Regions from separate parts of the Homo sapiens genome. Here all the other regions are linked to region 1. Evidence: promoter capture Hi-C in 16 types of primary human blood cells and fetal thymus (Javierre and others, 2016). All regions are on one chromosome and are shown on one strand. Each heading gives the region's core, a stretch centred on a gene start or on the middle of the fragment in contact. The rest is flanking DNA. Distances are from core to core; before and after follow the strand shown. Region 1 holds the start of SNRNP48 (small nuclear ribonucleoprotein U11/U12 subunit 48). Region 2 holds the start of EEF1E1 (eukaryotic translation elongation factor 1 epsilon 1). Region 3 overlaps LOC101928004 (a long non-coding RNA gene).

The links. Contacts are between HindIII fragments. The CHiCAGO score rates a contact against its expected background, and 5 or more counts as called.
Region 2: the fragment with the promoter of EEF1E1 here is called in contact with the fragment with the promoter of SNRNP48 in region 1 in 5 of 17 cell types (neutrophils, total CD4 T cells, activated CD4 T cells and 2 more); the score reaches 6.5 in neutrophils.
Region 3: a fragment that was not itself captured here is called in contact with the fragment with the promoter of SNRNP48 in region 1 in 1 of 17 cell types (total B cells); the score reaches 5.3 in total B cells.

Annotation. Positions count from the first base shown.
Region 1 is chr6:7,588,574-7,591,717 of GRCh38, forward strand. SNRNP48 (small nuclear ribonucleoprotein U11/U12 subunit 48) reads left to right here and starts at 1,625. Exons shown (of 9, transcript NM_152551.4): 1 at 1,625-1,840. The coding sequence starts at 1,685. RefSeq lists enhancers at 1,382-2,121, 1,700-1,849. The HindIII fragment of the contact is 5,411 bases long and covers 393-3,144 here.
Region 2 is chr6:8,100,394-8,103,819 of GRCh38, forward strand. EEF1E1 (eukaryotic translation elongation factor 1 epsilon 1) reads right to left here and starts at 2,155. Exons shown (of 4, transcript NM_004280.5): 1 at 2,042-2,155. The coding sequence starts at 2,128. EEF1E1-BLOC1S5 (EEF1E1-BLOC1S5 readthrough (NMD candidate)) reads right to left here and starts at 2,202. Exons shown (of 7, transcript NR_037618.1): 1 at 2,042-2,202. RefSeq lists silencers at 1,554-1,739, 1,948-2,067, 2,208-2,407. The HindIII fragment of the contact is 8,997 bases long and covers 1-3,426 here.
Region 3 is chr6:6,782,357-6,785,520 of GRCh38, forward strand. The region is part of intron 2 of LOC101928004 (a long non-coding RNA gene); the gene reads right to left. Among named protein-coding and RNA genes, the nearest start is that of LINC03055, 100 kb to the right of the region's middle. The HindIII fragment of the contact is 971 bases long and covers 778-1,748 here.

The DNA of each region.
Region 1 (3,144 bases), core at 375-2,874:
CACTCCAGCCTGGGTGGCAGAGCCAGACTCCGTCTCAAAAAAAAAAAAAAAAAGATACTGTAGGCAGAGTATGAATACATTAACTTCATACTCCTCTCTTACCAGCTTCTAGCCACTTCTGTATTTTATGGTGCTGCCTATTTATAGTCTTATGACTATTTTTTTAAGTGAGAACCGTGCTATTTGCCTTTAGAAATAATTGTTCACCAAAAAATTCCCCCACAGTTCCTTCACATGGGTAAACAAAGTGCAAAAGGAAACCAAGGTTTGACACTTGGGCTTGAAAAAATTTTAAAAAGTAATATAAAATGGGTTAGATTCTAGGAGTTGAAACCATTTGGGGAAACTACAAGGGCTAATTCCAGGTGTTGGGTAGGAAATGTACAAAGTTAAGCTTGTGTTATCAAAGCAAGAAAGCATTCAAGGACTAATAGGGATACATGAAAGACACAGATGGCTTAATGTGGCTTCCACTGGCCACATTTGGGACAATTTGAGCATCAACAAGAATTATGATGTTAAAGGAGTATATTATATTGAATTAAAAAAAAACCTTAAATCAATAACTTTAAAAACACCTTGATTCCCATAGTGAAGCAAACACTAAAATGGAGGTGTGGAAAGAATGCCAGTTAATAAACATAAAAGGCATGATACTATTGCGGAATCACTTATAACTCCTAATGTAACAACAGATTCAGTGAAGGACTGTATCAAGGAGTTGGGGAACAGGTTATTCTTATGGACTCAAGGTATAATCCACAGATTGCTTACCAATTCCTAAGAGGAAAATGTACTATTAGAATGAAGAGATGTAGCCACCACCTTTACCAAGTGATCAAATTTAGCATTACTAATATAACTGAGTTATGCGTCCCCGTGAGTTGGCAACATCTCTTAGGTAGTATTGCAAAAGTGCTCAAACTGAATCTAATCATGAGGGAAACAAAATCTGACAAATCCAGAATGAGAGAGATTCTACAAGACAACTGGCCTAGGCTCATCACAACATGTAATGATTTAATAATTTAAAAAGGAGGGTGAAGGAGGCTGATCTGGATTAAAAGAGACAATAACTAATTATAGCTTATGAGTTGAAAAAATAAAACTGCTATAGAAATAATTTTGGGGACAATGGGGAAATTTGAATATGAACTGTATAATAAATGATTTTATGGACTTACTAATTTTCTTAGGTTTGATCATGTATTGCGGTTACACAGGAAAATGTTCTTATTCTTAGAACATGCATGCTAACATATTTGGGGGTGAAAAATCTGCAACTTACTTTCAAAGAATTCAGCAAAAATCATTGGGTGGGGCTGTGAATGTGGAGAGAAGAGACGGAGAGAAATCAAACCTGGCAAAATGTTAACAATGAGCTGAAGGACGGCTAAACGAAAGCTCATTGTACTATTTTTAAAACTTTTCTGTAGCTATAAGCCGTTTTTTCTGAGGAAGTCGAGGAGGGCGAATATCTTTCTGGAAAGGCCAGAGCAAATGCACGCAAGAGCTGAGAAAAGATTGGAAAACGCCTCTCAAAATAACAGTCCCGCCCTTCCCGGGACTCTTCCCTATAGGCTGTTCAAGTCACGTGGCGACTGTGGCCCCGCCCACAGCTCCCAGAGGCCTGCGCGTGCGGTCTGCAGTTCGGCCGCTTCCTCTTGGCGGGTGGGCTGCAGCTATGGAGGGCGAGCCTCCACCTGTGGAGGAGCGGCGGCGGCTGCAGGAGGAGCTGAACGAGTTCGTGGAGAGCGGCTGCCGGACGTTGGAGGAGGTGACCGCGTCCCTGGGCTGGGACCTAGATAGTCTGGATCCCGGGGAAGAGGAGGCGGCGGAGGTGAGGAGCGCGGCCGCGGGGCCCTTTCGGGGACTATCGGCCCGGGGTCTTCTCTGGAAGAAGGGAGATCCGCACTGGCAGCCGCGGAGGGAAGGGCGAGGAGTCCTCGTCCGTGTGCAGAGCCGCGATGGGCGCCTGGGACCCGAGGGGCGCCGGGGGCCCTGGAGCAACCCTGACGTCCCTGGGTTCCGGGCTGGGGCGCGCGAGGAACTCCCGAAGGCTCCACATCGACCTCCAGTGCGGCGCTCCTCCCGCGCAACTTCGAGTTTAAAGAAAACCGGGGGCCGGGCGCGGTGGCGCACGCCTGTAATCCTAGCACTTTGAGAGGCCAAGGCGGGAGGATCCCTTGAGCCCAGGAGTTCCAGACTAGCCTGGGCAACATGGTGAAACCTCTTCTCTACCAAAAGTACAAAAATTAGCCGGGTGTGGTGGTGTGAGCCTGTGGCCCCAGCTATTTGGGAGGCTGGGGTGGAAGGATAGCTTGAGCCCAGGAGGTCGAGGCTGCAGTGAGCCGAGATCGCTCCACTGCATTCCAGCCTGGGCGACAGAGCAAGACCCTGTCTCAAAAAACAAACAAACAAAATCCAGGAAGGTGTGTTGAGTGAGGAGGGAATGGCAGATTTGGTATTTATTTAGAAAATAAGTGAACGTGTCTCAGAGCGCTGCAGAGGGATTGGCGGTTTGCATTGTCATCTGTCATACGGATTCCGCAGTTGCACCAGATTCGGTGTCAGGAGAGCTGGGAGTTTGCCAGTTCGCCTTTCTGTGCCTTAAAATTGGACACTTCTGACTGGGACAGCACCAATTCTAGGATTATTAAAGGTTGTCACCAAGAGGTGGTAACTGGCAACTCCTGTGGACATTAGAATTGCTTTTTTAAAAATGTAGGCAAGTGTATTTAGAGTGAACATTCGTGATTTTTGTTTTTTTGTGGGGTATTTTCGGTGGAATGAGAGGAAGGGAAGTGCTCCAATGTGGGGTAATTCATTATCTTTACTATTACTTCTGGGTTTACCATGCTGTGATAATTTCTCCTGGGTTTAAGTTACATGACTGATTCCTCAGAGGCATTTAAAATATATTTGATTTCTGTATATACCATTCATTGTTTATTGTATTAAAAGCACAGAGGAAATTAAAAAATCTTTAATATTCATTTAGAGGGGTATTTGAAGCTGGGAATTCCACTGAGTGGGGCTTACCAGACCCTTCCATACATTGTTTACTCAGCATTGCGGTAACATTGGATTCCTTGTATTAACGTTTAAATAGCACTTTGTTTGCCACTTACATTACTTCATTTA
Region 2 (3,426 bases), core at 905-3,404, 510 kb after region 1:
ATATGGAGTCCTAATTAGGGAAAAGAAGTCAGGTTGAGGGGACCAAGGGAAAGCAAAAAGAGAAGGGCGATAAGCTACAAGTCTGCCTTTCTTCATGGTCCAGGACACAGCCCTTCTGCACAAATAACTCAACAATCTTTCCATGTCCAGCTATCACCGGACCTTCGGCTGATAGAAAACTCAAGTTAGCTCACTGCAACCTTGGTGTTATCAGTACTGCACAAACCCCTCTTCAGCACACAACTGAAGTACTATTCCGTAAAATCCCCAGCCAGCCTTTGTTTCCTTGCAGTTAGCTCCTCTCTTACTAACTTGCCTGTTGCACTCTTGCAACATATTTTCATACTTTCTCTAATAAATCTGCTTTTCTTTACGTACAGCTGTCCTGGTAAATTCTTACCCTGGCGCCACCAGCCCCAGAGAGTTGCTGCTCACCCACGACAGTCCATGAAGTGCTTACTATGTTGTGCTTTAAATTATTTGCTGATGATTGTTTCTCATACTAGATAATACTCATATCTTGGCAATGGTCCCTAAAAAATATAAACTAGGCCAGGCACAGTGGTTCACGCCTGTAATCCCAGCACTTTAGGAGGCCAGGGCATGTGGATCACCTGAGGTCACCAGTTCAAGACCAGCCTGGCCAACATGGTGCAACCCGGTCTCTACTAAAAATACAAAAATTAGCTGAGCGTGGTGGCGAACACCTGTAACCCCAGCTACTTGGGAGGCTGAAGCAGAAGAATCGCTTGAACCCGGGAGGCAGAGGTTGCAGTGATCCGAGATCATGCCATGGCACTACAGCCTGGGCGACACAGTGAGACTTTGTCTCAAAAAAAAAAAAAAAAAAATATATATATATATATATATATATATATATATATATATATGGCACTCTTCCAATTTAAACGGTTGCAATGTTTGTCCACTCGGCCATATATATTATATTTATACTACATATATATTATATAATATATACACTAAGCTAGGGAGTAGGGGCCGAAGGGACGGAATTATCACTGGGGCAGAGGAAACACCAAAAGAAGGCCACTTTGGCTCCAACGCCTACTCTGCCACCAATCACAGGGCTGATCTTAGGCTGAACACTTAACCTTTCTAGGCTTCAGGTTAACTTAAATAAAAACTATACTACTACTTTCTAGACAAGATCTTCACATGGACCAAATGAAGAAGAGAAAAAATTAAAGACAAAAACCAAACATCATTTGGAAAAAATCTCAAAGGAGCAAAAAAAACATATATCCAAAGTAGTCTTCCTACAACCAATTTCCTTCTCTAATACATTCCTTCTACGACAAACAACTATAAAACACAAACGTTCTAACAGTGCCTAACCAGGCAATCTCATACCTTGTGATGTTTCCCGCATTCACTGTGGGTCGTAACACTTAAACTGATAATCCAAGGCTTTAGAAACGCCTTCCCCGAATCCCCTAGATTGGGCCAAGACTCCTTAGGTGTTCTCTCTGCCATTTATGGTGCAACGTGGCACTCTTCCAATTTAAATGGTTGCAATGTTTGTCCACCTGGCCAAAAAGCAAGCTGCCTGAGAGGAGGAAGCATGTTCCCCTAAATCATCATTGTATTCCCCAGACCCAGCACGGTGCTACCTGGCACCCTGTTAGCTATAACGGAGTCGCTGCGCAATAACTGAATGAAAGGTGCGATTACGGGAAAAAAAAAAAAGCCAGTTACTGAATACATTCCAGGTTGGTCTAAGAGCCCTGTGAGGACCCTCCTCCAACTGGTTTTGTTTCCTCATAATGGGATGATGACAATTTCCCAGGAGGTGAAGTTCAGGCCAAGCCCAACCTGAGCTGGTTAACCCCTCCCTCCAGGAGGTAGGATGGCAGGGGCCGAGGCCCAGAGGCGCCAGCCGGCTAGCGGCGCAGACACGTGGGGAGCTGGGTAGCAGCATCCTCACTCCGCCCGTATCTGGTGGCCGGCCCGGGTCCTGCCAGGGCTCGGCAGGCCCCGCTCCCGTCCACCTCTTCCCCTCCGCGCCGCCTCTCCTTCTCACCTGTCGCTCGCCCTGAGCACTGTATTTATTCCCCTTACTCAGTCCCAGGGACTTCTCCAGTAGCGACAACTCTGCGGCCGCCGCCATCTTCCGGCCGTAGCTCCTGGCAGACGCGAGACCTGCAGAACAAGAACCTCCCGCATTGGTGGAAACAGAAGTCCCACTCCTGCAAACTTCAGCGGCGATTGGCTGAACGGAAGGGGCGTGGAGAGCGCGCGCCAAAGCACAGGAGGCGGGGCCGGTGGAAGGGGCGGGGCTGAGGGCGGGGTGTGAGACAGGTGGAGAAGTGATGGTAAATTTCCACTCGAACTGTTGGGGAGCTAGTTACTGGTAGAAAGGCCCCAAGGCCGGGCTTCGGTGGCTGCAGTAGACTGGATCTGGATCTCTAAATGGCAATCTATTGACATGGCTGCCAGCGGTAACTCGTTAACTCATTTGCTAGTCTAAGAGAATTTATATATGATGGGAACTGAAATTTGCCTTAGTTTGGTTCAGGAATCTGTAAATTTGAACAATCAAATTGAATAGCAAAAAGTTCACAGTCCATTAGGAGTTTCTAACGTGTAGCATAATTCATGAGGATTTTAATTGTGTTGTAGTGGTGAATTCGAAAAACTGGTTTTTCTACTGTTGATCTACAGCTCAACACTAGCAGTAGAATTATACATTTAAAGATTATTCACAGAACACGGAGTATGTCAGATAGGGGTCAAATAATTACAGCTCAAGGAAATAAGCCATTAATGGCATTAATGATCTTTTTTTGCAGTACCAGAAGGCTGGTTACATAATTTATGAAGTTTTGGTATATAAATAAACAAGGTGCATAACTTTGCCCCACTAACTTGCTACATTCTTGTATCTTCAAAAAAGAAAGAAAGGAAGAAAGAAAGAAAATTAGTAGTATATGTTGAATATTTCCAAAAGATTTGTGAAAATACAAAATATTTTCCACTTTGAAGAATGAATAAACAAAGTGTGTATTAGTCTGAGAGAAATAGAACAATCCTACAAGGTAACTCATCATTGAATCAGAAATATCAAAGTTTAGTGGGGAATGTTGTTACTGTGTTACACCTTCCCTATCCCAGAATACTTAATGAGTTTACTCTGTCAGCAGAAGTAAACATAAGGAAAAGAAACTTTTGCCAAATCAACATAACAAAATACAAAAGAAATTTCAGTATAAGTGGATTGTTAGGCACTAAATTATCTGTTTTACTTTCCATATTCAGATAATGGAATGACTATTCTACTACTTTTTAAAAGACCAACCCTCTAAGATAATTCACATATCCATTTTCAGGGTTTAGGTACACTTTTTGCTTGTAATAAAACATTTTTTAAAAAAATTAACATTTATCCAATGCCAATGGGTGGTATAT
Region 3 (3,164 bases), core at 13-2,512, 810 kb before region 1:
CTCTTTTGTCATTAAACAAACAAAACACCAAACCTGTGTCATCTCTTGCATCTTGAGGTCCGGAGTTCAAGACCAGCCTGGCCAACATGGTGAAACCCTGTCTCTACAAAAGTACAAAAATTAGCCAGGTTGGGAGTTCAAGATCAGCCTGACCAACATGGAGAAACCCTGTCTCTACTAAAAGTACAAAATTAGCCAGGCATGGTGGCACATGCCTGTAATCCCGGCTACTAGGGAGGGTGAGGCAGGAGAATCACTTGAACCTGGGAGGCAGAGGTTGCAGTGAGCTGAGATCACGACATTGCACTCCAGCCTGGGCAACAAGAGCGAAACTCCATCTCAAAAAAAGAAAGAAAGGAAGGAAGGAAGGAAGGAGAAAAAGAAAAAGCAATCCCACTTTGCAAACTGGTCAGTGAGAACTTCCAGGAGCAGACAACACTGCAACCTTGGTCAGTGTCAAGGCCCTGGGGTCAGGCTGCCGAGAGTCAGTCCTGACACTGAACTAGGCAAGTGGTTTAACCTCACTCTACCTCAGTTTTTTCATTGGCAAAATGGGGACAGTCAGTACACCTATCTCATGTCGGGTGAATTAAATTAAAGAATCCAGGTAAAGTGTTCGGCACCATGCCTGAGAGCCAATCCTAACTATTACAATGATGATGGGCATCGCTATCTCCTTGTGCCCCCCAAGCAATCCCAGCTCATCTCTGAGCAATTCCTCTGCTTCTCCTGAAGGGCTCTGGACAAAGGCAAAGGAACATCCTCCTCTGGGAGGGAAGCTTTGGCTGTCAAATAAATAAAATATAGAATAACAAATAATTAAATAACAATTTGAAAAAGAATGTTGACATTTACACTAAGGGTGACCTGGTCCAATTGTTACTGGAGTTTTTATGTTCCATGTGTTGTATTTTTTTATTTGCTCAGTTTATTTATTTATTTATAGAAATAAAGCATTTTAAGTTTTATTTGCAGGCTTAAAATGCCCTTTTTTTGGTCACAGAGGAAACAAGTTTGCTTCAAAATCTGATTCTTTATCTAAATAAACTCACCAAATGACTAGTTGGCATTACACAGAAGTGGCACAAAAGATAGTTGAATCTCAAGAAAATTGATGTCTCTCATTCAGTAGCAAAATCAACCATTTTGACCATTGGTAGAGAACCAAGCTAGTTGTGAATGCTCATCTCTTCACCAAGCATGAAGCCCTATCTGCCTCTGCATTTCCAGAAGGTCCCCAAGGTTTTCCACCTTGAAGGTGGGGCTCACCTGAGCCTAGGGGAACCTGCTTCTCATGTGTATGCCCTCCCAAGCCTACAGGGTATTTGGTGGTTGAGTTCTCTTCCTACAAAAACCAAAATGGTGAAGGGTCTGGGGTGTGGACCAGTTTAAAGGAAAGGCAGAGCAGAAGTGGGCTGACATGCTCATCGCATGAGCCTTCCACGGTCTATGGCATTCTTCTCATTCTTTTGTAGAATTGTCTATAGAATGAGTTTTACTTATACTGTGAGTCTAAGCATGCAATCTTGCCACTAATGCTTCACACAATTCCTACCACCCACCATGAGGTAAGAATCCCATACTCCTTCCTTAGGTTCCCAAGAACTAATAACTTAAAAAGGAAATGATTCACAAAGTCTTCATTTTACCCCATCTAGGCATGTGTGGATTGTTTTGCCTATTGCTTTTGATCTCTTTGTTAGTCTAATACTGACAAGCATTTATCTGTTCATTCACTTTGGAAATGAAGCTTGAATCTTACATGTCCTGGCTTTCTTAAGCAAGATAAAGTTAAGAAAATGCTTTAAACAAAGGAAAAGCTAACACGGTTATGGTAAAATAGAGACTAAGAAATTGACATGTTAGCACTCAGTGGTGAGATTTTACCTAACCAAATCCATCCCCTCTAAAATAGAGATAATAGTATCAGCCTGACTGGTATAGCTATTCTTGGGGGTGGGGGCGGGGGGGAAAGCAAAAGGTCCAAAACTACTTCCTAGATCAGTGGCTTCTATAATTTTATTTTATCATTTTATTTTATTTTACCAGTTTACATGGTAAAAAGTATATATATATATATATATACATCTTTACACCTTGACCGGGTGCACAGACACATAAGCTGAAACAAAAGTTTTATGAGTCAATACTTCCCTTAATTACAGGCAATACAGGATGGTATTTTCTAACTCTATTCTATTTCATTTTAAAATGTTGATGTGACTTAGTAAATAGTTGCAGCTCACAGTTTGAAAAACCATGCCCTAGAAAATTACCTCCTGTGCAGCTGTCTAATGAAGTCAAGCAGAGTGTTCTTGAGGCAAAGGCTAGCTTTCCCATTCTCACGCAGTCCCTGCTTGCACTGCTTCTGCACTGTTTCCCAAATGCCAGTGATAATATTATTTTGACACTTGTTATAAGGGTAGGGAAGACTTTATCCAAGATTACTGCAGGATGTGGTGGCTCACACCTATAATCCCAGCACTTTGGAGGGCCGAGGCAGGAGGATCACCTAGTAGGCCAGGAGTCTGAGACTAGCCTGGGCAACATAGGGAGACCCTCTCTCTGCCAAAAAAAAAATTGTTTTTTTAAAGGACTATTGCAATAGGGACAGTGCAATAAGGGAGAGAGATTGGGCTCAACTCCAAATACAACAAAGACTGCTGGGGCCAAGGAACAAGATGGGGATGATTGGATGAAAAATTACCAAGAGGACACATCAAGGGTACAGAGATTCTTGCAAAACTGACCTAACAGAATTCTTGCTAAAGGCAGGCCAAGGATATATACATCAAAAGTGAGGGATGTTAGAAATGAAAGTGTGAAAGTGCAGTGAGAAAAGAAAATGTGGTACATAAAGAACTTGATCAGATATTAAGGGTGATCATAAATCAAGGGTGAGGGATTCTTGCTAAACTGACTTAACAGGATTCTTGCCAAGACTGGGCAGTGCAGGCTCGGCAACGACTAAGACCAAGGCCGAAGCCTAGTCGATAAGAGAGCTCAGAGGAGCCTGACTAAGCCTTGGCCAAGGAGAGTCTTTGCCACCAGCTGTGGTAAACACAAAGATGGAAATGACTTTGTTTTTACTACGGGAGGAAAAAACTCTCAGATACTGAAGTTGTCTTGCAGAAAGCAGGATTACCTAATGGTTCAAAGCATGG